7 separate regions of the Homo sapiens genome follow, and all the other regions are linked to region 1. The links are contacts of gene promoters, found by promoter capture Hi-C in blood cells and fetal thymus (Javierre and others, 2016). All regions are on one chromosome and are shown on one strand. Each heading gives the region's core, a stretch centred on a gene start or on the middle of the fragment in contact. The rest is flanking DNA. Distances are from core to core; before and after follow the strand shown.

The links. The method cuts DNA at HindIII sites, captures the fragments that hold promoters and counts their contacts. A CHiCAGO score of 5 or more calls a contact.
Region 2: a contact is called between a fragment that was not itself captured here and the fragment with the promoter of C11orf65 in region 1, in 1 of 17 cell types (total CD4 T cells). The highest score is 5.1, in total CD4 T cells.
Region 3: a contact is called between a fragment that was not itself captured here and the fragment with the promoter of C11orf65 in region 1, in 2 of 17 cell types (total CD4 T cells and non-activated CD4 T cells). The highest score is 6.9, in total CD4 T cells.
Region 4: a contact is called between a fragment that was not itself captured here and the fragment with the promoter of C11orf65 in region 1, in 5 of 17 cell types (total CD4 T cells, naive CD4 T cells, naive CD8 T cells and 2 more). The highest score is 7.7, in total CD4 T cells.
Region 5: a fragment that was not itself captured here is called in contact with the fragment with the promoter of C11orf65 in region 1 in 1 of 17 cell types (fetal thymus); the score reaches 6.0 in fetal thymus.
Region 6: a fragment that was not itself captured here is called in contact with the fragment with the promoter of C11orf65 in region 1 in 1 of 17 cell types (total CD4 T cells); the score reaches 5.4 in total CD4 T cells.
Region 7: a contact is called between a fragment that was not itself captured here and the fragment with the promoter of C11orf65 in region 1, in 4 of 17 cell types (naive CD8 T cells, total CD8 T cells, naive B cells and 1 more). The highest score is 6.4, in naive CD8 T cells.

Annotation. Positions count from the first base shown.
Region 1 is chr11:108,465,693-108,469,571 of GRCh38, reverse strand. C11orf65 (chromosome 11 open reading frame 65) reads left to right here and starts at 2,043. Exons shown (of 9, transcript NM_152587.5): 1 at 2,043-2,101. RefSeq lists a cis regulatory region at 1,959, enhancers at 1,887-2,031, 1,972-2,824 and a silencer at 3,856-3,879. The HindIII fragment of the contact is 4,195 bases long and covers 1-2,879 here.
Region 2 is chr11:108,089,165-108,093,066 of GRCh38, reverse strand. It overlaps CUL5 (cullin 5), which reads right to left. Exons shown (of 19, transcript NM_003478.6): 13 at 3,444-3,575. Among named protein-coding and RNA genes, the nearest start is that of ACAT1, 30 kb to the left of the region's middle. The HindIII fragment of the contact is 5,776 bases long and covers 1-3,902 here.
Region 3 is chr11:108,066,226-108,070,021 of GRCh38, reverse strand. The region is part of intron 7 of CUL5 (cullin 5); the gene reads right to left. Among named protein-coding and RNA genes, the nearest start is that of ACAT1, 53 kb to the left of the region's middle. The HindIII fragment of the contact is 3,557 bases long and covers 608-3,796 here.
Region 4 is chr11:108,125,417-108,129,178 of GRCh38, reverse strand. All of the region lies in intron 1 of ACAT1 (acetyl-CoA acetyltransferase 1), which reads right to left. Among named protein-coding and RNA genes, the nearest start is that of ACAT1, 5.7 kb to the right of the region's middle. The HindIII fragment of the contact is 4,164 bases long and covers 364-3,762 here.
Region 5 is chr11:108,001,272-108,005,217 of GRCh38, reverse strand. No RefSeq gene overlaps it. Among named protein-coding and RNA genes, the nearest start is that of CUL5, 5.7 kb to the left of the region's middle. The HindIII fragment of the contact is 4,460 bases long and covers 1-3,773 here.
Region 6 is chr11:108,048,476-108,052,230 of GRCh38, reverse strand. It overlaps CUL5 (cullin 5), which reads right to left. Exons shown (of 19, transcript NM_003478.6): 4 at 2,165-2,341. Among named protein-coding and RNA genes, the nearest start is that of CUL5, 41 kb to the right of the region's middle. The HindIII fragment of the contact is 4,378 bases long and covers 1-3,755 here.
Region 7 is chr11:108,025,268-108,029,096 of GRCh38, reverse strand. All of the region lies in intron 1 of CUL5 (cullin 5), which reads right to left. Among named protein-coding and RNA genes, the nearest start is that of CUL5, 18 kb to the right of the region's middle. RefSeq lists an enhancer at 3,077-3,176. The HindIII fragment of the contact is 2,762 bases long and covers 869-3,630 here.

The DNA of each region.
Region 1 (3,879 bases), core at 794-3,293:
ACATTAAAAATATGCAGTTTATTAGGTTGATGCAAAAGTAATCGCGGTTTTTGCCATTATGTTTAATTATGTATGTTTAATGACAAAAACCGCAATTACTTTTGCACCAACCTAATAAAAATAATATCTAAACAGCAGTATACCTTAAATTTATTTTTATATTTCATCCAGTACATTTAGGAATTTTTGTTCTAAATTATTTACTGGCTTAGTTTTGCAGTTTTTTAATTTAAAATTTTTAAATTGTGGTAAAATATACATAAATTTATCCTTCTAACTAGTTTCAATTGTACAATTCAGTGGACTTAAGTACATTCACATTGTTGTGTAATTTTGAATTTAATTTTTTTTTTTTTTTAGAGGGAATCTTGCTGTGTTGCCAGGCTGAAGTGCAATGGCGCTATCTCGGCTCACTGCAACCAACCTCTGCCTCCCGGGTTCTATCAATTCTCCTGCCTCAGCTTCCTGAGTAGCTGGGACTACAGGCAGCGCGCCACCAGGAGATTGAGACCATCCTGGCTAACACAGTAAAACCCCGTCTCTACTAAACATACAAAAAATTAGCCGGGTATCATGGAGGGCGCCTGTAGTCCCAGCTACTTGGGAGGCTGGGCTAATTTTTGTATTTTTAGTAGAGAGGGGGTTTCACCATGTTGTCCAGGCTGGTCTTGAACTCCTGACCTCAAGTGATCCGCCCACCTCAGCCTCCCAAAGTGCTGGGATTACAGGTGTGAGCCACCACACCTGGCCTGAATTTAAATTTTTTAACCCAGTTTCTATTAGATTGAAAATTAAGATATACATAATGTTTCCATGACTATATTTTTACAGTTTATTGTTCATAACTACTGTGTATTAATGCATCAAGGCAACTACATAAAGAGGAACTGAAGCTCACCCCTTGCTTATGATTGTGATGATTTTAAAGAACTCTGGAAGTTCAGTGAGTCACTGAATTAACCTACCAAGAATTTTTTCTGTACAAATGTTTTCATTATACAGGGAAATTTCTCTTCAGGTGTTTCTTTTCCCTCCTTAAAAGTTTATCTTCCTTACAAACAAATTATATTCCATGCATGAACATAGGACGAACATAGCAAAACTGGGCAGTTCTGAACAAGATTTTTTCACATTGCAATAATCTGTGACCAACTAAAGCACTGCCAAAGTGTCAGACTCAGAATTCAAGCAAGTCAGACTTGCTTTAGATAAGCAGTGCTTGCATTATTTAAGGTCATTTGAAAACTCATTCAAGAGGTCGTCTGTTTTCACTTAAAGCAGTTTAGCTTAACCAGCTGAAGAGCTTACATTTAGAAATAACATTGGACTGCAAGTCACGTATTCTTTGACCTTGAGCAAGACCTGTCAAATAGCTAGAAGGATCAGTTGTCTCATTTTCAAATGAATAAATTAAACTAATTAAATAGGCCGGGCGCGGTGGTTCACGCCTGTAATCCTAGCACTTTGGGAGGCCAAGGCGGGAGATGGGGTAGGGGGGGATCGCTGGAGCCCAGGAGTTCAAGACCAGCCTGGACAACATGGAGAAACCCTGTCGCCACTATTAATAAAAATAGAAAAATGAGCCTGGCGTGGTGGTGCACTCCTACGGTCCCAGCTACTCGGGAGGCTGACGTGGGAGAATCACCTGAGCCAGGGGAGTTCCAGGCTGCAGTGAGCCGAGATCGCGCCACTGCACTCCAGCCTCGGCCACAGATTGAGACCCTATCTCAAGAAAAATTTTACAAAAATTAATAGAAAATATTTCATTATATTTCTCAACATCTTTAAGGTTCTTGGTTGAAATGACTGGGCTTTATTATATACTAAGCCCAACTTCGTAGACAATCACTTTGCTTTCCCTTCCAAAATCCTTTGCCTCAAAGCCACTGACAATCGAAAGCGGGCTTCTAACAGAACCAGCAGCCTTCACAAGCGGTTGGTCTATATCCCCTGCACTTTGTCAGAGCGCGAATAGAGGAAAGGCGGGGCCTAGAAGGCGGGGCTAGGAGGGCAATGGGGCGGGACAGAACGGATTGAGTTACGTCATTTCCGCCTGCGACGTTACCTAGGAGTCCAGCGGCGCCCGGGCCAGCAGCGATTGGTAGGTGAAGGGAATAGTGTCCCTTCTCTCAGCGCGTACTACTGTTCCGGTAGCCTTTGTGCCCACTGGTTTGAGCCTTCGTTGTTTCAAGGCCCTAAAGAACCCATACCCTTGATACCATTCCCCATCCGCCCCTCTTAAGGACGTTTCATTCCTCTAAAGCCCTCCCAGCGAGGCCTCCAGCTGGTTTACAGTCCTGCCCGGGAGTAACCCCTTCCTCAGAGCTCCTTTCCTCGCCCTCGGTGAAGTTGCGTCGGGCTGGTTGACAAGTCCTTACTGCTCATACTGCGCCTTCACAGATCCCCACACCCCAATCCTCCGCAAAGATATTACTCCGTCCACCTTCCCGCTGACCGGGAAGTACACATTAATCTTCCTTAGATTTTTCCTCATTTCTTTCCTTTGCCCCCTCCCATTTGTTTTACGTCTTTTCAGTTTTTTTAGAGATGGAAAAGGGAAACGCGTTTTTAAAGAATAGGTTAGTTTTTCTTCTCCTGCCCCTAGCATCAAGGACCACAGGTAAAAAGGAAAAGCGAAATTACGAAACTTATAAAGGCCACGCGAATCATTTGTTTATTCAATAAATTTAGTAGAGGAAACAAAATAGGACGTATACAGGTTCCAATTCAAGCAAAGTAAAGATTGTTTGCTGCTTTAAAAGTGAAACCAAGAATCCAAACACGTCTTGTGGGCTTTTTTCCACGAAGCGTAAAAATAAATAAGTGAAAACATCATCTATTATGATAAAAAATTTTATTGATTAGGGATATAATAAGCTTGGAAAATACTTATCTGTGAATCTACAAGTGGCACATGGGTGTAGTAAAATACTTCATTGCCTGAGCAGTTGTTTGATAGTACATTTTATTTGGTTAGTTTTTTGTTGTTGTTTGTTTTTGAGAAGGCATCTCGCTGTGTTGCCCAGGCTGAGTGCAGTGGCGTGATCTCAGTTCACTGCAACCTCTGCCTCCTGGGTTCAAGTTATTCTCCTGCCTCAGCCTTCCGAGTAGCTGTGACTGCAAGTGTGCGCCACCACACCCAGTTTATTTTTGTATTTTTACTAGAGACAGGGTTTCACCATATTGGCCAGGCTGGTCTCAAACCCCTGACTTAAGGTGATCTGCCCACCTTGGCCTCCCAAAATGTTAGGATTACAGGCCTGAGCCACCAGACCCGGCCTGGTAGTACATTTTAGTATCTTAAAACTTATGAAGGGTTTTCACAATGGTTATTTTATCTGGAGCATCATAATAACCATATAAAGTCGATCTTATTTCTTATCTAAAGCCAGCAACGGTCCCACCCTCCTTTCTGCTCCAGATGGTGTCCTCTTACACCTACTCAAAGGTTTTACCATTTAACTTATCCCTTTTTTTGCCCCTTTAAGTTCTCCGTCACTTTAATTTCTCCCTCACTACTGGATGGTACATTTTAACATGCTTTAGAATCTGTCGTTTTTTGTTGTTGTTGTTGTTTTTTTTTTTTTTTAGACCGAGTTTCACTCTTGTTGCCCAGGCTGGAGTAGTGGCATGATCTCGACTCACCGCAACCTCCGCCTGCCAGGTTCAAGCAATTCTCCTGCCTCAGCCTTCCTGAGTAGCTGGGATTACAGGCATGCGCCACCACACCCAGCTAATTTTGTATTTTTAGTAGAGACGGGATTTCTCCATTTTGGTCAGGCTGGTCTCAAACTCCCAACCTCAGATGATCCGCCCACCTTGGCCTCCCAAAGTGCTGGGATTACAGGCGTGAGCCACCGCGCCCAGCCTTTTTTTTTT
Region 2 (3,902 bases), core at 284-2,783, 380 kb after region 1:
AGGCGGGTGGATCACCTGAGGTCAGGAGTTCAAGACCAGCCTGGCTAACATGGTGAAACCCATCTCTGCTAAAAATACAAAAATTAGCTGGGCATGGTGGCATGCGCCTGTAATCCCAGCTACTCAGGAGGCTGAGGCAGGAAAATCGCTTGAACCTGGGTGGCAGAAGTTGCAGTGAGCCAAGATCGCACCACTGCACTCCAGCCTGGGCAACAAAGTGAGACTCTGTCTCAAAAAAATATAAAAAATAAAAATAAAAATAAAATATACAGTGTAATGAAGTTTAGTATATCTACAGAACTGTGCAACCATCACCACTATCTAATTTTAGAACATTTTCATCACCCCAAAAAGAAACCCCATACTATTTACAGTCACTCGTCATTTCCCCTCCTGGCCCCAACTCCTGGAATTTGTGGATTTGCCTATTCTGGACACTTCACATTAGTGGAATCATACGATATGGTCTTTGGGATTGGCTTCTTTCACTCAGCATTATGTTTTCAAAGTTCACCTAATATTGCAGCATGTATTATTAGTTTATTCCTTTTTATCACAAAAAATATTCCATTGTATGGATAAATCACATTTTATTCATTAGCTCACTGACATTTTGGGTTGTTTCCACTTTTTGACTATTATTAGTAATCTTGCCATGAACATTTGTTTACAAGTTTTTACATGAAACATGTTTTCATTTCTCTTCAAATGAATTACCTAAGAGTGAAATTGCTGGGTCAGCTCTACGTTCAACATTTTAAGGAACTGCCCAACAGTTTTCCAAAGTGTCTGCACCATCTTATGTCTCCACTAGCAACTTACGAAGGTTCCAATTTCTCCTCTTCCTTACTAGCATTTGTTATCATCTGTCTTTATTTTAGCTACCCTAGTGGGAATAAAGTAGTATCTCTTTGTGTTTTTTTTGTTTTTGAGAAAGGGTCTCACTCTGTTGCCCAGGCTGCAGTGCAGTGGCACAATCTCAGCTCATTACAACTTTGAACTTCTGGGCTCAAGCAATCATCCCATCTCAGCCTCCTGAGTAGCTAGAACCACAGGCACACATCACCATGCCTAGCTGATTTCTGTATTTTTTGTAGACATGGAGTATTGTTATTTTGCCCAGGGTAGTTTCTAACTCCTGGCTTCATGCAATCCTCCCACCTCAGCCTTTCAAAATATTTGGGATAAGCAGGAGCCAACATGTTGAGCATTTCACTTGCATTTCACTAATGACTAATGATGTTGAGTATCTTTGCATGCACTTATTGGCCATCTGTCTATCTTCTGTGAAGAGATGTCAATTCGAATCCTTTGCCTGCTTTTAATTATTTGTCGTGTGTGTGTGTGTGTGTGTGTGTGTGTGTGTGTGTGAGTGAGAGAGACAGGATCTGACTCTGTTGCTCAGGCAGGAGTACAGTGGTAAGATCTCTGTTCAATGCAACCTCCACCTCACAGGCTCAGGCGATCCTCCCACCTCAGCCTCCCAAGCAGCTGGGACTAAGGTGCATGCCATCACACCCAGCTAATTTTTTAAATTTTTGTAGAGATGGGGTTTCACCACGTTGCCCAGGCTCATCTCAAACTCTGAGCACAAGCCATCTGCCCTCCTCAGCCTCCCAAAGTGCTGGGATTACAGGTGTGAGCCACCATGCCTAGCCTTGTTTGTCATTTTACTGTTGGGTCTTGATATTTTTTTTTTAACAAAGAAATAACATAGGCCGGGTGTGGTGGCTCACGCCTGTAATCTCAGTACTTTGGGAGGCCGAGGCAGGCGGATCACTTAAGACCAGGATTTCAAGACCAGCCTGGCCAACATGCAAAACCGTGTCTCTACTAAAAATACAAAAATTAGCCAGGCGTCATGGCACAAACCTGTAGTCCCAGCTACTTAGGAGGCTGAGACAGGAGAATTGCTTGAATCTGGGAGACAGAGGTTTCAGTGAGTCAAGATTGCACCACTGCAATCCAGCCTGGGTAACACAGCAAGACTACATCTCCAAAAAAAAGAAAAAAAGAAAGAAAGAAAGAAAATTTAATTCTAAAGGTTTCTCGTAGTAAATATGTATTAGTTTTGCTATTTTCCCCTTTTTCCTATATACTTATAAGTGACAGTAAGAGTTTTGAGTCTTTTGACAATAGTTTTAAAAAGTCACAGAATAATCATTCTTTTTCCTACTAAGCAGTTTCAGTTAGCACAGTAATTTTTACTATCCTAAAGTTCCATGCGAAGGGCTAGCTATAAGTTAAAATATCTGTAGGTCTCTCTCGTGTGTGCTTGCTCGCACTCTCTCTCTCTCCATATATATGTGGAGAGAGTTATATACATACACAGAAATTAAAGATATTTACTTTAATAATTAAAACAAAAAAAGAACTCAAAATACTTTATATGGGAATTTAGTTATAATCAGCATTGATTACCCTAAATAGGCCATCATTTAAAGGTTCTTTTTGCTATACAGAAGTATTTATTGTTATCATTTATAAACATCTCTAAAGTTAAGCATTTAGTACTGAAAATACCTTAAAGATATAATAATTTGTCCTGCAGTCTATTTATTTATTTTATTTTTCTTGAGATGGAGTCTTGCTCTGTCACCCAGGCTGGAGTTCAGTGGCTCGATTTCAGCTCACTGCAAGCTCCGCCCCCCAGGGTTCATGCCATTCTCCTGCCTCAGCCTCCCAAGTAGCTGGGACTACAGGCCCCCCACCACCACGCCTCGTTAATTTTTTTGTATTTTTAATAGAGACTGGGTTTCACTGTGTTAGCCAGGATGGTCTCGATCTCCTGACCTTGTGATCCACCTGCCTTGGCCTCCCAAAGTGCTGGGATTATAGGTGTGAGCCACCGTGCCCAGCCCCTGTAGTCTATTTATTAATAAGGTCAGTTTAAATGAGAGTTGAGGTACAAATGGGAGTGAAACAGTAGAAACAACTCAAGAACAAAGATACTTTACTGAAAGTATTAAGAACATTTATTAGATATCACTTTATTTTATATAATTGATGGTATATTCTTTTTTTTTTGAAATGGAGTCCCACTCTGTTACCCAGGCTGGAGTGCAATGGCACGATCTTGGCTCACTGCAACCTCCACCTCCTGGGTTCAAGTGATTCTCTTGCCTCAGCCTCCCAAGCAGCTGGAATTACCGGAGTGCACCAGCACATCCAGCTAATTTTTGTATTTTTAGTAGAGACGCGGTTTTGCCATGTTGGTCAGGCTAGTCTTGAACTCCTGACTTCAGGTGATCCACCTGCCTCGGCCTCCCAAAGTGCTGGGATTACAGGTATGAGCCAGTGCGCCCGGCCTAACTGACGCTATATTCTTATAAAATGTTTCCTACTTCTTTGACATTAACAATATCTCCAAAATGTATTACTTAAGCACACATATAAATGATGTAATGTATTAGAAAACCAAATATTTAAAAAAATTTACTTACTCTTAGCCACTCTACCATGTTTTCTTCAATTTCACTATCGGCAGAGATGTCTAATATAAGACGTCGTGTCAAATGAGCTTTATGATACCTCATAAAAACATCTTTGTTCTGTACATACTTAAGTACCAAGAGCTGTATGAAAAATAAAGTTACTTTCAGTTCTTATATACTCTTACCATCTCTCGAATTTAGACCTTTCTATATCCACCAATTGTCACAAGTCAGAAACTTTTATGAGCATATACAGATAGAGGCCTACTGAATTATCCATCTCTGAGAAATACCCAGTCCTGATACACTACTTTAAAGGTTAGCAAAACTGAGACTATAACCAAATTGTTAGTCGGTCTAAATATCAGTTTTTTAGATTTTGTATAAAATGCAACGATATACTTTACATGAAAAAAATCAATGTCCCCCTGCAAAGTGTCTCTTCTACTTATCTTTTTCACTTTTTTT
Region 3 (3,796 bases), core at 1,137-3,636, 400 kb after region 1:
ACAATATTGTTCAACAAAAAAAAAATTATACTGAAAGTAGATTTCACTTACCTTAACTATAGGATTATTGAAGATGGATATGCTATACTAGTTTACCAAAGTGTATTTTCCCCTAAGGAAAAAAACTATAGAACTAGACTCTCTTTAGAAATTTTAACAAAAGTCCTCAAGGAGGGGAGAGAAAAATATACAAAACCAAACTTTGATTAACTCTTCCTGTCTGGAGAGAACCTGTTTTAAAATTAGGTTATAAAATTCTAGAAGTGTGAATACATTCATTCAACAAACCATTATTGGATGCCTACTACGTGCAGGCACTAAGGAAGTATTTAAGAGACAAGAATAAGATATAATTCCTGCTCTCGAAGAGATCACTGTCTAATTGAGAGTGAGGAGGGCAGTAAACCTACACTGCTAACTAAATATAACTCAGTTAAGTGGCATCACACACATACACAAACACACACAAAATAAAAAAAAACTTAGAAACTACTTTTTTCTAGGGTAGTTAAAATGGCCTCATCCACAAGTTGGTATCTAAATGGGATCCTGTAAAGTAAGTACAAGCCCTAAAATAGGTTACGTATTCTAGGAATACCAGGAAGCTTAAAATGGTAGAGAAGAAACAGACAGTGGAAGAGAAGGCTAGAAAGATAGGCTGCAACCAGATTATGAATGAAAATCTATGATTTGGGGTTTTATTTCATAGGTAGGGAAGGAAGAACAAAGGAAGGTTTTTTTGTTTGTTTAAGAGACAGAGTCTTGCTCTGCTGCCCAAGCTGGAGTACAGTGGCATTACTACATAGCTACTATCATACCTCACTACAGCCTTGAACTCCTAGGCTCAAGTGATCCTCCTGCCTCAGCCTCTTGAGTAGCTAGGACTACAGGGATGTACTATCAAGTCTGGTTAATTTTTTAAACTTTTCTGTAGAGATGATGTCTTGCTATGTTCCCCAGGCTGGTCACAAACTCCTGGTCTCACATGATCCCCCTGTCAGTCTCCCAAAGTGTGGGATTACAGGTGTGAACCATCAGGCCTGGCCCCAAGGAAGTTTTAAACAGAGGATAAATGTAATGAGATTCTCCTCTCCTCAAGTCATTATTAAAGATCAGTATAATGGTAGTAAGGCAGGTGGTAAGGAGTGGGTGGTTGGGATATGGTAACGAGGCTGTTGAACTATTTCAGGTAAGATAGCAAGGGTCTAGTGCTCTAGGAGGCCATCAGGAAAATCTAAATGAGGCAGAAGATATCATGTCATCTCTGCTCCCTCGTGTCATGTAATTATTTACTTCTCTTTTGGGGATCAGATGAAATTAATAGGTTGTGAGGACTAAAGTTAAGTACAATAAGGCTGATATATTTCTTCTGAAAAACAAATCATCTATCTGTAAATTAAGGGAGGCAATTATGTGTCCCTTAAAAATTTTTTATTAAAAATTCCTTTGGAATTGACATAATGTTGGTAACTACTAAAGCTGAATTTAGGTAATGGGGATTCATTATACTGTTCTTCCTACATTGTAAAAATGCTTAAAATTTTCCGAATAAAGAATTTTCTGTGGTCCCTGCGAGTTGGGGGGCTGAGGTGGGAGGGTCAGTTAAGCTCAGGAGGTCAAGGCTGCAGTAAGCCTTGATCATGTCACTGCAGTGTAGTCTGGGCGACAGAGCAAGACTGTCACAAAACAAAACAAAACAAAACAAAAAAAAAGGTTTTTTCAGGCTCCTCTACAAGAATGATGCTGATGACTTTTAAATGCATATATCCATGTATATTTCTGTCCTAAGAAAATAATACACATGGCTGGGCGTGGTGGCTCATAGCCTATAATCCCAGCACTTTGGGAGGCTAAGGCGGGCGGATCACCTGAGGTCAGGAGTTCAAGACCAGCCTGACCAACACAGAGAAACCCCATCTCTACTAAAAATTAGCCGGGCATGGTGGGTGCCTGTAATCCCAGCTACTCGGGAGGCTGAGGCAGGAGAATTGCTTAAACCTGGGAGGCAGAGATTGCAGTGAGCCGAGATCGTGCCATTGCACTCCAGCCTGGGCAACAAGAGCAAAACTCCGTCTCAAAAAAGGAAAAAAAAAAGAAAAATAAAGAAAAGACTACACATATAAAATGGTTAAGAAACTCTTTCCTTGCAAGGTGGAAATCTCTGCCCCAACTGCTGAGTAATCTTATTCTATAACATCACTGGAATAGGCCCAACTAAACACTTCCACCTTAAGCAGTGAAACCAGATTGAGCATAGGTAAATCTAACAATATATAACTAATAGAGAACAAAGACAAAGTGGAATCCTAATAAACTCTAAGCTCTGTGTTTTCTATTTCATTGAAAACTTTCACTTGAACATTATCCTGTTCAGTGGTAGTTGAAATTTTGCAGATTCTAAAAATCCAGACCAGTGTGTTTCAGACTGTATGTTGTGAAATCAGTTTTAATGGCTGTGACCAGGTTTAAAAAAAAAAAAAATGTACATAGGACAGAACAAAAAATATCAGAGTGTATCACATATTGTAACAATGAATATTATTTCATAAGACTTTTGTTTCAGATATGTACAAATAAACAGTATATTCTAAGCCACAATATAAAATGTATTTCTTATGGTGGGTTACAACGAGGATTAAAAGGAGAGCTAAATTGACAACATAATTAAAGTAAACTGAGAAGAATTTGGTAAATGCTTAAATGAAAGGGATTAGGGAAATAAAAGGATGTTGAATCCATTTCTAGCTTGAGAGGTTAAACAAATTATTATAACAGGTATCCTTTAATGGGCACTTACTTTGTACCAGGCATTATGCTAAATGCTTTACATATAGATCTCATTTAACCCACATGGCAACCTCATGAGGCAGATACTTACTTTATGAGGACATAGACTGAGAGTAGCCACATAACTTCCAAATGTTGCACAGTTGGTTCATAAGGTCTTGAGTTATAATTTGAGGCCAGGTATGTATCTCCATAGCCTCCAACTTTTCTTACTACAGAAGTAGAGCATGTACATACTTAGTGATGGCTACATGCTCAGAACTGAGTTACGTGTTTTAAGGAATAGAGAAGTATAAACATGGTTCATGCCCTCAATGATCTTACAATCCAGTTGGAAACCCATAAACTATATACCTAAAAACATGTGTATGGTTCATATGTACAGATGTGTATGAAAAGAAGATCTTCACTAATAAGCAAATAACTGGAAAATGCATCATTACTATACTATAAACTTAAGGACAAAGATTGTGCTCTGTCCACAGCTATAAAGACTGTGCTGTGTCCTGGCACACAGCTGGTGCTTGATAAGAAATACAAGGCAGTCTATAATTTGCTCCTAAACCTAGTGGTAGAAACAATAGTTACCACGGGAATTCAAATAGGAAGAAACTGATGAAGGCTAGATGATCTGAGCTACTTTATTACAATTTTATTACAAGGTGAGTTAAAAGAATCCTTGCAAGATTTTGGGTAGGCAGAAGAAAACACTGCTAAAATGAATCCAAAAAAAAAAGTAACAGAGTGAGTTGTATGAATAAAAAAATATTTCTTATTGGAGTAGAGTGACTCTTGCTGGACAATATTAAGTTAGAAAAATAGGTTAGGGTCAAATTATGAAGGGTCTTAAAAATCAGGGGTATGAAATAATGATACTCTGGTTTTTTTTTTGAGACAGAGTCTCGCTCTGTCGCCCAGGCTGGAGTGCAGTGGCGTGATCTTGGCTCACTGCAAGCTCTGCCTCCTGGGTTCACACCATTTCTCCCGCCTCAGCCTCCTGAGTACTGGG
Region 4 (3,762 bases), core at 1,196-3,695, 340 kb after region 1:
CTATTATTCTAAGTGAAGTAACTCAGGAATGGAAACACCAAACAGCTTATGTTCTCACTCATAAGTGGGAGCTGCGCTATGAGGACACAAAGGCATAAGAATGATACAGTGGACTTTGGGGACTCAGGGGAAAGGCGGGGGGTGGGGGTGAGGAATAAAAGACTACACATTGGTTTACAGTGTATACTGCTCAGGTGATGGGTGCACCAAAATATCAGATACCACCAATAAAGAACTTATTCATATAATCCAACACCACCTGTTCCCAAAAGCCTATTGAAATAAAAATTAAATTTTAAAAGTCCCCTTTCTACTTAGCTAGTTTGTTCCTTGTTTACTAAGCCACTTCTCTTCTTTCAAGCTTCTGGTCCAGTTTAATGGAATCTTCCCTGGTTCTCTCCACTTTACTCTGGATCCCATTTCCAGTTGCCTTTTCAAAGATGGCACAGTTATCCCTTCCTTCTCCTCTACATCATTCACCCCTTTTACTTCTGGATAATTCCATAAGCATACAAACAGGATCTGATTCCCCCCACCTAAAAAACAAAGTAAAAACAAATAAATGTCTCTTGACCCACATTCCCGAGCTTTCACCTCATTTCTTTTTGAAAAAAGGCTGGAGTGCAGTGGTGCGATCTCAGCTCACTGCAACCTCTGCCTCCCAGGTTCAAGCAATTCTCCTGCCTCAGCCTCCCGAGTACCTGGGACTACAGGCATGCGCCACCACGCCCGGCTAATTTTTGTATTTTTAGTAGAGACAGGGTTTCACCACGTTGGCCAGGCTGATTTTGAACTCCTGACCTCAGGTGATCCGCCTGCCTCGGCCTCCCAAAGTGCTGGGATTACAGGCATGAGCCACTGCACATGGCCTCACCTTACTTTAGTTCTCTTTGGCAAGAAAGGTTCTCCAGGTTACCTACAGTGTCTATTTGCTTGTCCTCACCTCCTCTTTACAGTTCAACCCACTCAGATCAGGATTTTATTTCTGCCAGTTTACCACTGTTGGTTCTGAGCAACATCAGCAATGTCTGTGTAGCAAAATCCAACTCGCTATAATTGTCTCACTTAACCTTTTAACACATCAGCAAGACTGGGCTCACCTTTCTTTGAGAAATATGCTGAGCAGTTAAGAGCCTGGGCTTACCAGCTCAGTATTCTTTGTTTGTTTGTTTTGTAGAGACAGAGTCTCACTATCTTACCAAGCTGGTCTCAAACTCCTGGGCTCAAGCGATCCTCCTGCGTTGGCCTTCCAAAGTGCTGGGATTACAGGCGTGAGCCACTGTGCCCTGCAAGCTGAGTATTTTTGAGCAAGTTACTTAGACACACTTACCTTGGTTTTCTTAAATACCCTCCACAGGCTGTTATGAGAATAAAATGAGGTAATATGTATAATCCACTGCAGAAACCCTTCCTTGTCTTGGCTTCCATTACAAACGTGGACTCCTTCCTACCTCATTAGTCATATTTACCTCAGTCTCCTTTACTATCTCATCTTCCCCTTCCAACCTCCAAGTGCTGAATGTCCCAGGGCTTTGTTCCAGGCCTCTTTTAATTTAACTTCACTATATCCTTAGTTATATCCAGTCCCATGGCTTTAAAAAGCATTTATGAGGCCGGGCACAGTGGCTCACGCCTGTAATCCCAGCACTTTGGGAGGCCAAGGCAGGCAGATCACGAGGTCGGGAGATAGAGACCATCCTGGCTAACACGGTGAAACCCCATATCTACTAAAAATACAAAAACAAAATTAGCCAGGCGTGGTGGCGGGCACCTGTAGCCCTAGCTATTTGGGAGGCTGAGGTGGGAGAATGGTGTGAACCCGGGAAGTGGAGCTTGCAGTAAGCCAAGATCACGCCACTGCACTCCAGCCTGGGTGACAGAGTGAGACTCTGTCTCAAAAAAAAAAAAAAAAGGCTTCTATGTGCTGATGATTTTCCAAATTTCTATCTCCAACCCTGACCTTTCAACTGACCACCAGACTCACACCCAAGCGCCAACCTGACAGCTGCAGGTGAATGTCCAAATCATAGCTCTCAATTTCCAACCCTAGAAAACCTGTTTGTGGCCAGGTGCAGTGGCTCACCCCTGTAATCCCAGCAGTTTGGGAGGCCGAGGGGGGCGGATCACGAGGTCAGGAGTTCCAGACCAGCCTGGCCAACATGCTGAAACCCCGTCTCTACCAAAAATACAAAAAAATAAAAATAAAATAAAATAAAAAAATAACAGGGCATGGTGGCACGCGCCTGTAATCCCAGCTACTCCAGAGGCTAAGGCAAGAGAACTGCTTAAACCCGGGAGGTGGAGGTTGCAGTGAGCTGAGATTGCGCCATTGCACTCCAGCCTGGGTGACAGAGAAGACTCCATCTCAAAAAAAAAAAAAAAAAAAAGAAAACCTGTTTGTTGCCGGTATTCTCAGGTGCTCAAGCCAAAATCATCCTTCATCCTTCCCTTTATTGCAATCCCTAAAATCCAGATACTGTGAACAGCGTCCAAAACATAACTAAATTCGTCCACTCTGCCTCATGTCTACTGCTGCCACCTAGTCCAAGCCACCATCTCTTGTTCCTATTAATGGCCTTCTACCTAGTTCCCTGCCTCCCCTGACACCTCTCTACAGTCCCTCCAGCTTTGAAAAATGTAAATCAGATCATATCACTCTACTGCTTAAAATAATTTAACAGCTTTTCATTGCTCTTGGAATTATATACAAATTCTTTACCTCATCCTCCAAGAACCTGCATGATCTGGCTCTAGGTTTTCTCTCCAAATTTACATCACTCTTGCTCTGTGCCAGCCACTGGCATCTCTTTGTTCTAAACCCTATCCCGATACCTCAAGGTCTCTGCAGTGTGCCTCTGCCAGTAATAGTCTCCTCAGGCCGGGCCTAGTGGCTCATGCCTATAATCCCAGCCCTTTGGGAGGCCGAGGCAGGTGGATCACTTGAGATTAGAAGTTTGAGACCAGCCTGGCCAACATGGTGAAACCCCGTGTCTACTAAAAATACAAAAATTAGCCAGGTGTGGGGGTGGGCACCTGTAGTCCCAGCTACTTGGGAGGTTGAGGTGGGAGAATCGCTTGAATCCAGGAGGCAGAAGTTTCAGTGAGCCGAGATCGCGCCGCTGCCCTCTAGCCTGTGCAACAGAGTGTGATCCTGTCTCCAAAAAAATCAAAAACAAAACAAAACAAAAAGTCTTCCCAGCTCTCCATGGCTGGCTCATTTTTATTCTTCATGTCTTTTCTTTTTTTTTTTTTTTAGACGGAGTCTCACTTTGTCACCCAGACTGGAGTGCAGTGGCGCGATCTCGGCTCACTGCAAGCTCCGCCTCCCAGGTTCACGCCATTCTCCTGCCTCAGCCTTCCAGGTAGCTGGGACTACAAGCGCCCGCCACCACGCCTGGCTAATTTTCTGCATTTTTATAGAGACAGGGTTTCACCTTGTTAGCCAGGATAGTCTCGATCTCCTGACCTGGTGATCTGCCCGCCTCAGCCTCCCAAAGTGCTGGGATTACAGGCGTGAGCCACCACACCCAGCCTATTCTTCATGTCTTTTCTAATGACACATTCCCAGAGTGGTCCACCCTAACTACTCTATTTAAAGTTACCCTCTACTTTTTCCTCTCTTTTATATGAATATCTTTATTTCCTTCAAAGCACCTCTTACACTGTAAGTATGTGGTTCACATCTTTGTTTTATTATCCACCCCTCCAACATAATACAGGCTTCCTGATGGCGGGATGGTGTCTCTTGCTCACTGTTACATC
Region 5 (3,946 bases), core at 294-2,793, 460 kb after region 1:
AGCCATCATGTTAAACCATAATACCTTACAAAATGAAAGTTCTCTATAAACTTTTCTCTCCCACCTCCTAAAATATCCACTGTTAGCCATTTGTTTTATTCTTCTCATTTGTTTTCTGTGTATGCAGTAAAATATATATAAAGGAGTTTGTCAAATGTGGCTGATCATTTACATCAAAATAACCTGGGGTGCTTATTTTAAAAGCAGATTTCTAGGCTCTACCCTCTGAAGATTCTGATTCTACAGGTCAGGAGTGAGGCCCCAAATCTACCTTTTCCCTAAGCATCCCAGGTGACTTTCCTTGTACACCAGTGGCCAAGAATTCTTGTGCATCAGTGGCCCAGAATTTCTCATAGAATACTTAAGAATGTGTGCTTTAGAACCAAACAGATCCTGCCATTTATGAGCTACGAGACGTTGGGTACATTACTTAACCCTGCTGAGTCATAGTTTCCTTGTCTGTATCTGTAATGTAATGTATTACAGTGGCTCACACCTGTAATCCCAGCACTTTGGGAGGCCAAGGCGGGCAGATCACCTGAGGTCAGGAGTTTGAGACTAGCCTGGCCAACATGACGGAACCCCGTCTCTACTAAAAATACAAAAATTAGCTGGGCATGGTGGTGGGTGCCTGTAATCTCAGCTACTGGGGAGGCTGAGGCAGGAGAATCGCTTGAACCCGGGAGTTGAGCAGTGGGCCGAGATTGCACCACTGCACTCCAGCCTGGGTGAGAGGGCGGGACTCTGTCTCAAAAAAAAAAAAAAGAAAGAAAAAGAAAAAGGAAAAAAATGTATTGCACGTGTAAGCACTCAGTAAATGTAGTAATAATAAGACCTAAAACATATAATGCTTACCATATGTCAGACACAGTTCTATGCACTTTACATAGATGAATACATTTGATGTAGGAATTTAATTCCTCCTTGTGGAGACCTTAAGTATCTTTTTTTGTTTGTTTCTTTTGAGACAGAGTTTCACTCTTGTTGCCCAGGCTGGAGTGCAATGGTGCAATCTTGGCTCACTGCAACCTCTGCCTCCCGGGTTACAGGCATGTGCCACCATGCCTGGCTAATGTATTTTTAGTAGAGATGGGGTTTCTCCATGTTGGTCAGGCTGGTCTCGAACTCCTGACCTCAGGTGATCCACCCGCCTTGGCCTCCCTTAGTGCTGGGATTACAGGCGTGAGCCACTGCGCCCGGCCTTAAGTATCTTTTAAACTTCACACCTGAGAAGAGGAAGAGTCAGGTAGCTGATGTGAATGATCCATCATTTAGAAGGGGAAAAATGATGATGGAAAGGATAGAAAGGAGAAAATGTGCTAGAACCATGTTCTTGATAAGGCAAGAGGATGGCACTTAGGGCACACATGGGGAGAGGTGCACCTTGGCTAGCACCATGGACAGTCACACCTACTAGGAGGATAGACACGAGACCGTCGATAGGCTCTTGGAAGTGAAGATTCTCTTCCGATTGCTTCTCTTCTCTAATTGAAGTTGGAAGCCAGGTCATGAGCTGATAGTGAGGATGCTGTGAGGTTTAAGAAGAAAGGAGAAAAGGAGAAGATGGGAAATTGTTATCTATGATGGTGGAAGAGGAAAGAGAAATATATAATGATTCCTGGGCATCCCTAAGTGCCAACTTGAGACTAGTTATCCCAGATTTTAATTGAGGTCTCTCAGCATAGCTAAGGAAATTAACATTCACCAGGGTTAAGTAATGTGCCTAAGGTCTCACAGCTCCTACGTGGCAGGACCTGTTTGATTCAAAAGACATATTCAGCCACTCGGGTGCAGGCGTAGAATTGGATGTAACCAAAGTTGGGGTTTTGCCGAGAGAGAATGATGGAGGGCATTGAGCATATATACAAGGGAGTGAGTATGATGATCGACCCTTGGATTTAAGCTGAATTAGGAGGCAAAGAACAGTGAAAAAACAGTAGGGTCAAAGTACCGTCCATTCACATTGGAGTCTAAGGATTGCTGGAGTCAAGATGGAAGAGGTACTAGGCTGAAAAGATAGCAGGGGATAGTTGGAGAATGAAATTGAGCTTAGGTTGTTATTGGGAGCATTATGGGTAGTGACAAAGGCTACACTCTGATCAAGATTGAGAGTAGTTGGCTGGGCGCGGTGGCTCACGCCTGTAATCCCAGCACTTTGGGAGGCCAAGGAGGGCAGATCACTTGAGGCCAGGAGTTGGAGACCAGGCTGGCCATCATGGTGAAACCCCGTCTCTACTAAAAATACAAAAATTAGCTGGGCATGGTGGCGCACACCTGTAATCCCAGCTACTCAGGAGGCTGAGGCATGAGAATCACTTGAAACCAGGAGGTGGAGGTTGCAGTGAGCTGAGATCACACCATTACCCACTAACTGGGAAATAGAGTGAGACTCTGTCTAAAAGAAAAGAGAGAGAGAGAGAGAGAGAGTAGTTGAGTTGGAGAACAGGAGAACAGAATCATTAGAAAAGTGGAGGTTAAGGAATGGAGAAGCCAGGCATACCAGACGCTTTCGGTGTTCAGTCACATCCTCTTGACCTATTTCTGATTTCATCAGCGGCTATGAACATTCTATGTGAGCTCAGATGTCCCTGATACCTTCCCACATGAAAAGAGCACCTCTCCTTTCTGCTTTCACCTCAAGGTCTTCTCTGAAGGTCCAGGAGCCTGCTAGGTCCACAGACAAGTGCAGCAAAGCACAAGGAAGACAATGCTTTTGGGGACAACTGCCAACCAGGAGAGTCAGCAGCCACTGGATATGTGTCCCAACCTCTGTTCCATTGGTGGACAATTTTATGGGGCACTCAGGATGCTTCCCAGAGATCTCAGTGGACCTGAGTCCCCTTTGTTCATGGTGGTGACCTTGATGGCACACTTTTCCTCCTTCCTTATCTTACTCTCCCTACTTTCTCATTCCTGCCTCTTGGGTTATCTCCCAAAGAAATCACTTCTATCCCAGGTCCTTGTTTCAGACTCGCTTTCAGGAGAAACCTTAATAAAACACCAGGGTACTAATAATCTTTTTTTTTTTTTTTTTTTTTTTTTGAGACAGAGTCTTGCTCTGTCGCCCAGAGTGGAATGCAGAGGCGCAATCTCGGCTCACTGCAGCCTCCGCCTCCCAGGTTCAAGCAATTATCTTGCCTCACCCTCCCAAGTAACTAATAATCTTTTATATAGAAGTTGAAATCACTAAGAATGACCACAGGAATAATGCTGGAGAGAATGATATTGGAGTCAAGATCTAAATTCATTAAGGAATGAGGGCATATGATCTGGGAAGTCATTACATGAATGAAAAGGAGCATTAATGCATGAGTAGCTGACTGACACAAGACTCAGAGCTGAGCGTTTTTAGGGAATGGGGAGGATGATCTGGAAGTGGCAGTGGGAGCAAAGAGGACCCATGCACGAACTGTAGGCCCGGTGGTACATCAGCCATCTTGTGAGAGAGATGCAGAAAAAACAGTGACTTCAGGAGGGAACCAAGTTTCACTTAGAATAAAAAAGTAAACGGACTTCTTTGCTGTAGTTGTAAGTGCAGAAGCTGGGGAGGGACACTTTTATCCCAAGTCCACAGGATTTTTGGGAATGCTCCTAATCCTTGCTAGAAGAGGCAGGGAACCCAGGGAGAGAATGGGTTTATCTGGGGTACTGAGAATTCTGGGGAACAAATTTTAATGACTAATTTGGAGCTATTCTTCTCTAACTCTTGTATAGTCACTTACCCTTTCAAGAGTCTTCGTTTGTTAACCAATCGTTAACCAGTGCCTAAAGCTTATGCCTCAATTATATTTGCTATAAATATTTTCTATAAATAATGATATATTATTTAATTCAAGGATGAATTAAATAATATGGGGCTTGGCTGGTCATGGTGGCTCATGCCTGTAATTCCAACACATTAGAAGGCCAAGAAGGGAGGATCACTTGAGTTCAGGAATTCAAGACC
Region 6 (3,755 bases), core at 413-2,912, 420 kb after region 1:
GGGAGGCCAAGGTGGGAGGATCACTTGAGGCCAGGAGTTTGAGACCAGCCTCGGCAACACAGTAAGACCCATCTCAACAACAACAAAAAATACAAAAATTTGCTAGGCATGCTGGCATGTGCCTGTAGTCCCAGCTACTTGGGAGGCTGAGGTGGGAGGATCACTTAAGTCCAGGAGGGCAAGGCTGCAGCAAGCCAAGATCACACTATTCCACTCTAGCCTGGGCAACACAGCAAGAGCCCATTTCAAACAAAACAAAAGTAAATAAAGAACAAGTGTTTCAGAATCCAACTGGATTTGAATCCCAGCTGTTACTTATTTATCTGCTTTCTTATGTATAAAATGGTCAAAATAATAGTGCAAATTTCAGTGGTTGTAAAAATTAACTATGATAATACATGGAAAATGTTTATTCTCCTATAGTTCCATGGTTGAATTTCAGATATATTGGTGTGTTTGAAATAGACATATGCATATGTTTGTAAAGACACATAAAAAATGTAAAAAGGACCAACTGAAAATCTGATACTGGACCTTATAAAAGGTCTGCAAATCTACTGTTTAGATGTTCCATTAAAATGATAAAAATGGTATATAAACATTGGTGATTATATCAGTACTCCAAGAAACTTGGTCAGATGTAGGAGATACATTAATGACAGCAACAATAACAACAAGAGTTAACAGTTTTATAACACTCATTCTATACCTGGGACTGCTCTATGTATTGTCTGCATGTAACTCATTTAATCCTCATAATCTTGATATAGGTACTATGATTATCCCCCCTTTAGATATGTGAAACCTGGGGTACAGATAGCAAAGCTAACTTTCCACATTTATGCACCTCATCAGTGGCAACACTGAGATTTGAATCCAAAAACTGTGGCCCCAGAATTGATACACTTAATCACTAAGTGGATGCTGCTTCCCACAACCAATAGAATGGCCAAAAAAAGAGGACAAGATTATGAGACTACAAATTAAATCGCAGCCAGAAGTGTTTTTCACTTTTTTTTTTCCCTTGGCACAAATTTCCCATATTGCAGTGATTTCTATCACTGAAGAACCACTGGGTATCTAAATTTACAGTATCCCTGTCAACATCAGATCAAATTTTAAGGCTGGGATGGGGCAACAATGCCCAGGTTACACTATTGTAATGCCTGAGTGTTTTACTGTAACCATCACAGTAAACAGTAAATTGACTAAAGTTCAAATGGCATTTTTTACTTTTCAAATCTACGGTCCCATTTTATTCTTACAAGTGGAAAGATATATGGAAAATGAGGACGGAGTTTGAAGAGCTGAAAGGGAAACCTAGGACCCTTCATATTCAGCACTGAGTTCTTTCCATTAAATCATGACTGGTTACTTGACACAATTTTTAAATAGAAAATAAGCACAGTATATACTGAATTTATAATAGAAGAGTTAAGTAAAAGGGAAATTATAAAGATAGCAGTTTAGCCACAATTAAACATAAAGATATCAGAAGGTAACCTAATAAAAGGGGATTTTTGAGACAGGGAGAAAAGTAATTTAATTTCTAGTAAGGGTATAGGTTGGGTGCAGTGGCTCACGCCTGTAATTCCAACAGTTTCGGAGGCTGAGGCAGGCAGATCACCTGAGGTCAGGAGTTCGAGACGAGCCTGGCCAACATGGTGAAACCTGGTCTCCACTAAAAATACAATAAAATAGCCGGGTGTGGTAGCACGTGCCTGTAGTCCCAGCTACTCAGGAGGCTGAGGCAGGAGAATTGCTTGAACACAGGAGGCGGAGGTTGCAGTGAGCAGACTGCGCCACTGCACACTCCAGCCTAGGCGACAGAGTGACACTCCAGTTTAAAAAAAAAAAAAGAGTACAAAGAAAGAATAGAGAAATAAAATACTGAATACCAGGAGAAGGAGAAAGTAAAAAGGAAAAGTAAAGGAGATAATGGTTGAAGATGCAGATCTATAGCTTAAGACCACATAAAAAGATGAAAGAAGATTGAAGCTAAAGACAAAAAAGAATATTATTCAATAAAATCTAGTTAAGAGCTGAAAAGCAATTGACATGTGAAGTAGAAAAACCCACTTAAAAGTTCAAATTACTTTCAAATGCTTCCAAATTACCCTCTTTCTGAAGAATATTAGGAAAACAAGGAGAAAAATAGTCTTACCTTTCGAACAATACTGTCTTCCACATTTGATTTTTTATTGCTGCCCTGTTTACCCATTAAAGTAATCTCTAGTTGACAAAAAGGTTTTGGTAAAATATCACATTGTGTAAAGAACTTTCGCCATTCAACAATATATGCTTTTAGCAAAGCCGTATCATCTTGATGGCTCAGTACTCGCTGAAAAAAAGAGGTGTACCAATTTGAAATAAATGCAGTTGCTTTGAAAAATTAAGAACATATTCATGCCAAAATTTAAATTGTACATAATTTTTAAATTATTGTACAAGCTCTTATATCCAAAAGAAATTAAAACATGTTCACAAAAAAACTTGTACACGAATGTTCACAGCAGCATTATTCAAAATAGATAAAAAATAGAAACAACCCAAATATCCATTAGCTGAAATACGGATAAACAATATATGGGCCAGGCGTGGTGGCTCATACAGTAGTCCCAGCACTTTGGGAGGCTGAGGCGGGAGGATTGCTTGAGCTCAGGAATTTGAGACCAACCTGGGCAACATAGCAAGACCTCATCTCCACAAATAATACAAAAAATTAGCTGGGTGTGTTGGTGCGTGCCTGTGGTCCCAGCTACTTAGGAGGTTGAGGTGGGAGGATTGCTTGAGCCCCAGCAGTTGAGGCTACAGTGAGCCATGATTGCACCACTGCACTCTGGCCTGGGCGACAGAGCAATACCCTGGCTTGAAAAAAAACTAAACAAATGAAAAAAGAAACCAAAAAACCCCACAATATATGGTATATCCAAACAATAGATATTATTCAGCCATAAAGAGAAACAAATATTGTGAAAGAAAACTAGTCACAAAAGGCCACATATTATGATTCCAATTACAGAAAATGTCAAATATAGACATATCCATAGGGACAACAGATTAGTGATTTAGTGGGTTGGGAGAAGGGAGTGACTGTTCATAGGTATAGGATTTCTTTTTAGGGTGATGAAAATATTCTGGGATTATTGGGTGATGGTTGCACAATTTTATGAAATATACTACAACCCACTGAATCATATCCTTTAAGAGAGTAAATTTTATGGTATATTAATTATATCTCAAGTTTTTAAAAGGTGGTGGAGTCACGGCAGGTGCGGTGGCTCATGCCTGTAATCCCAGCACTTTGGGAGGCTAAGGCGGGCAGATCACGAGGTCATGAGTTTGAGACCAGCTTGACCAACATGGTGAAACCCCATCTCTACTAAAAATACAAAAATTAGCCAGGCATGGTGGCATGCGCCTGTAATCTCAGCTGCTCGGGAGGCTGAGGCAGGAGAATCGCTTGAATCCAGGAGGCGGAGGTTGTAGTGAGCCGAGATCGCGCTACTGCACTGCAGCCTGGGCGACAAAGTGAGAATCCACCTCAAAAAAAAAAAAAAAAAAAAAAAAAAAAAAAAAAAAGGTGGTGGAGTCTATTTCCCCACTATTAGAGTTTGGGCTGGTCCTGTGATTTACTTTGACCAACAGAATGCCACCGATGTAACAGTGAAAGATTTCTCAGTCTATCCATGAATAGGTATTGTAGATTCCACTTTCATCTCAAAGGCTGGTCTCCTTGAGAATGACAAACCACA
Region 7 (3,829 bases), core at 1,000-3,499, 440 kb after region 1:
GAAAAAGGGTATTCTAGGCAGAGAAAGCAGCCAATGCAAAGAACATAAGATAGAAACATGCTTAATGTATTCAAGGTAGAGCAAAGTAAACAAAGTGGAGAGAGCAGATAAGGTCATAGAAGTAACTTAGCTTACTGGATCTTACTGAGCTGGATCTTGTAGGACCCTGAAGGCCATTATAAAGACTTTGGTTTCTACTATAAGTGAGATGAAGAGCCATTAAAAGATTCTGAGCAAGAAGTGTCATAATCTTTTTTATTTTTTATTTTTTTTGAGATGGAGTCTTACTCTACTGCCCAGGCTGGAGTACAATGGGGCGATCTCGGCTCACTGCAACCTCTGCCTCCTGGGTTCAAGCAATTCTCCTGCCCTAGCTGGGATTACAGGTGTGCACCACCACGCTCAGCTAATTTTTGTATTTTAGTAGAGACGGGGTTTCACCATGTCGGCCAGGCTGGTCTCTAACTCGTGACCTTGTGATCCGCCCGCTTCGGCCTCCGAAAGTGCTGTGATTACAGGTGTGATCCACCGCACCTGGCCTGAAGTGTCATAATCTTATTTACATTTTAAAATCTCCCTCATTACTATGTTGAGAATATATTATAAGGGGCAAGGGTTAAAACTGGGTGTAGGATTAGGAAGCACTGATGGTGACTTGGACTGAGGTGATAGCAATGGAGGTAGGAGGTATGAGAAGTGGTTCAATTTTAGATGCCCAAAAGGTGGTACTAACAGGACTTCCTAACAGTAAGCATCTGAGATATGAGAAAATGGGAGTAAAGCATGACTTTAAGGCTTTTGTCCAGTAAGTGTGGCACTACCATCAACTAGAATAAAAGAAGATTTGACAGGCTTATTAAGGAAAGCTTGTGAGACTGGTTTTAGATGTATTACATTTAACATATCTATTATACATTCATATGAAAATGTTGAATAGGCAGTCCAATATGGAAATCTAGAATTTAAAAGGCCTATCAGAAAATAAAAACTTGAAGTCATCAGAATACAGATGGGTTTTAAAACCTGTTATTGGATGAGATCACTGTGAGAGAAGTGATACATAAAGATGGAGACCCAAGCCTGAGGTTTTAGATATCCAACATTAAGAGGCGGAGAGAGGAGTAAGAACTAGCAAAGGAGACAAAGAGAGCAACCAGAGCACAGGTGGCAAGAAAACCAAGAGTATGGTATTCTGGACAAAAAGTAAATAAAGTGTGTCAGAAAGACAGAATAATCAATTTTAAGAATTTCTCCTGACAGATCAGGTAAGATAACCACTGAAACAGCAATATGGAAGTTACTGAAACTTTGTCCACAGAAGTTTTTGCAGAGTAGTAAGGACAAATACCAGATTAGAGTGGAATGAAGAGTGGAATTAAGAGAAACGAGGAGCCAGGCGCAATAGTTCATGCTTGTAATCCCAACACTGGGAGGCTGAGGCGGGCGGGTCACTTGAGCCCAGGAGTTCGAGACCAGCCTGGGCAACATGGAAAAAGCCTGTCTCTACTAAAAATACAAAAAATTTGGCTGGGCACGGTGGCTCACACATGTAATCCCAGCACTTTGGGAGGCCGGGGTGGGTGGATGACTTGACATCAGGAGTTCGAGACCAGCCTGACCTACATGGTGAAACCCTGTCTCTACTGAAAATACAAAAATCAGCTGGGTGTGGTGGTAGGCCCCAGTAATCCCGGCTACTCAGGAGGCTGAGGTGGGAGAATTGCTTGAACCTGGGAGGCGGAGTTTGCAGTGAGCCAAGATTGTGCCACTGCACTCCAGCCTGGACAGCAGGGGGAGACTGTCTCAAAGAAAAAAAAAAAAAATTAGCTGGGCATGGTGGCGCCTATAATCCCAGCTACTAAGGCCTGGAGGCGGAGGTTGCAGTGAGCCATGATGGCGCCACTGCACTCCAGCCTAGGCGACAGCGACAGTGAGACCCTATCTCAAAAAACAAATAGTAAATAAAAACAAAAATAAATAAGAAGAAAACTAGAAAGAGTACAGACAACCCTTCACAATTTTTCCTGTATAAGAGAGTAAAGAAATGGCATGGTAATTGATAGGGTGAGAGGAAGTGAAAAAATAATAATTTTTTTTTTTTTTTTTTTGAGACGGAGTCTCACTCTGTCTTTCAGGCTGGAGTGCAGTGGCGTGATCTCTGCTCACTGCAACCTCCGCCTCCCAAGTTCAAGTGGTTTTCCTGCCTCAGCCTCCCGAGTAGCTGGGAATACAGGTGCCCGCCACCATGCCCAGCCAATTTTTCTATTTTTAGTAGAGATGGGGTTTCGCCACATTGGCCAGGGTGGTCTCGAACTCCTGACCTCGTGATCCGCCCACCTCAGCCTCCCAAAGTGCTGGGATTACAAACGTGAGCCACTGCGCCTGGCCAAATAATTTTTTAAAGCTAGGATACAGTATGATTGTATGCTGACAGGAACATTCCAGGATATGAAATGTTGATGATGTGGGGAAAGGGAGAGAAACTGCTAGTGAATTTAAATTGCACTGGATAGGCAAGAGGGAATGGGATCTAGCGCATATGTGGAGGAAGTGACTACAGGCTAAGAGGAGAAGGCAAAAGAATGTACATGTAGGTGCTGGTACAAGGATAGATGTCGTACGACTCTGAGAAGTTCATATTTTATTGCTTTAATTTCCCAGTGATGTGGAAATAACGACAATGTCTGAGAAGATCGGGGAGGAAATGTTAGAATGTTGACAGAAAAGATGTGAAAAATACATCTAGGAAAGTGGAAGAATAAGTGACTCTGGAAATGCAGTATGACTGGCCTCATTGTGGTCATGGATTTAAGGTGCAAATAGCACGGTTGTGTCTTTTTCTCGAGTGACATTCAGCTGCACAGGTACTGGCACTGAAAAGTGAAGAGACAGATTTAACCAGGGTTGTACACTTTTCCCAAGCAGAACAAGACAGGGGCAAGGAAGCAAAAAGTGTATTGAAGGGAACAACTATAATGATTGAGAAGAGAATTTATGTTGGGTAAGGCGGAGAAAATGGACTTCAAGGTGAAAAGAGAAAGAGACTTCTGCTTCCCATCATGACAGAATAACAGGAACCAGATTTTCCCTCCTGCCTAAACAAACTAGAAAACCAAAAGCAGTGCAGGACAGCGCTTCCTGAGAAAAGAAAAACAAATGAGGTGAGCGCTACAAATGTCCAAACATACTGCCTAGAGAGTGTCTCCAGGCCTCATCACAAGGAGGGGAAACCCAAACAGCCGCTAGGGGTTTCACTACATTTAAGAGGCAGAGTTCAGAGTTTGAAAAGGCTGAGGTGACTAGAATTTGTGGCATCAAGGGAGCTCTGGGTATCTATACAGAAGGTCCCTGAGGCCTGTGGCTGAGTACTAACCTGTACCTGGGTGTGAGAAAACTGTAAGAGACTGGGGAAAGAACCATTAGGAAGGAATGGGAATGGGCAGAACAATCAGCAGAGTGCACACAGGGCCAGAAACAGTTAGTGTTGCTACCAGCCAGAGTGGAAACACCCTTTAAAGTGCCAGGCATTGGGTAGAGTCCACAGAAAGTTATTGAGTCTATAGTGGAGCCAAAGTAGCCCTACCCCGAGTGATATTCTGGACACACTCTAACGAAACTTAAAGGTAAGCTTCAAAAGGATCAAACTGATTCCAAGTTACCTAACTGCATCACAGCCAAATCCAAAACTATTTAGAGAAAAATTTTAAAATCAAGCCCCTAAAACATATACTCACAATGTCTGACATCCAGTTAAAAACTACCAAGCATGCAAAGAAACAGGAAAATATAAACTATCACCAAGACAAAAAAAATCACCAAAAGAAGCTGA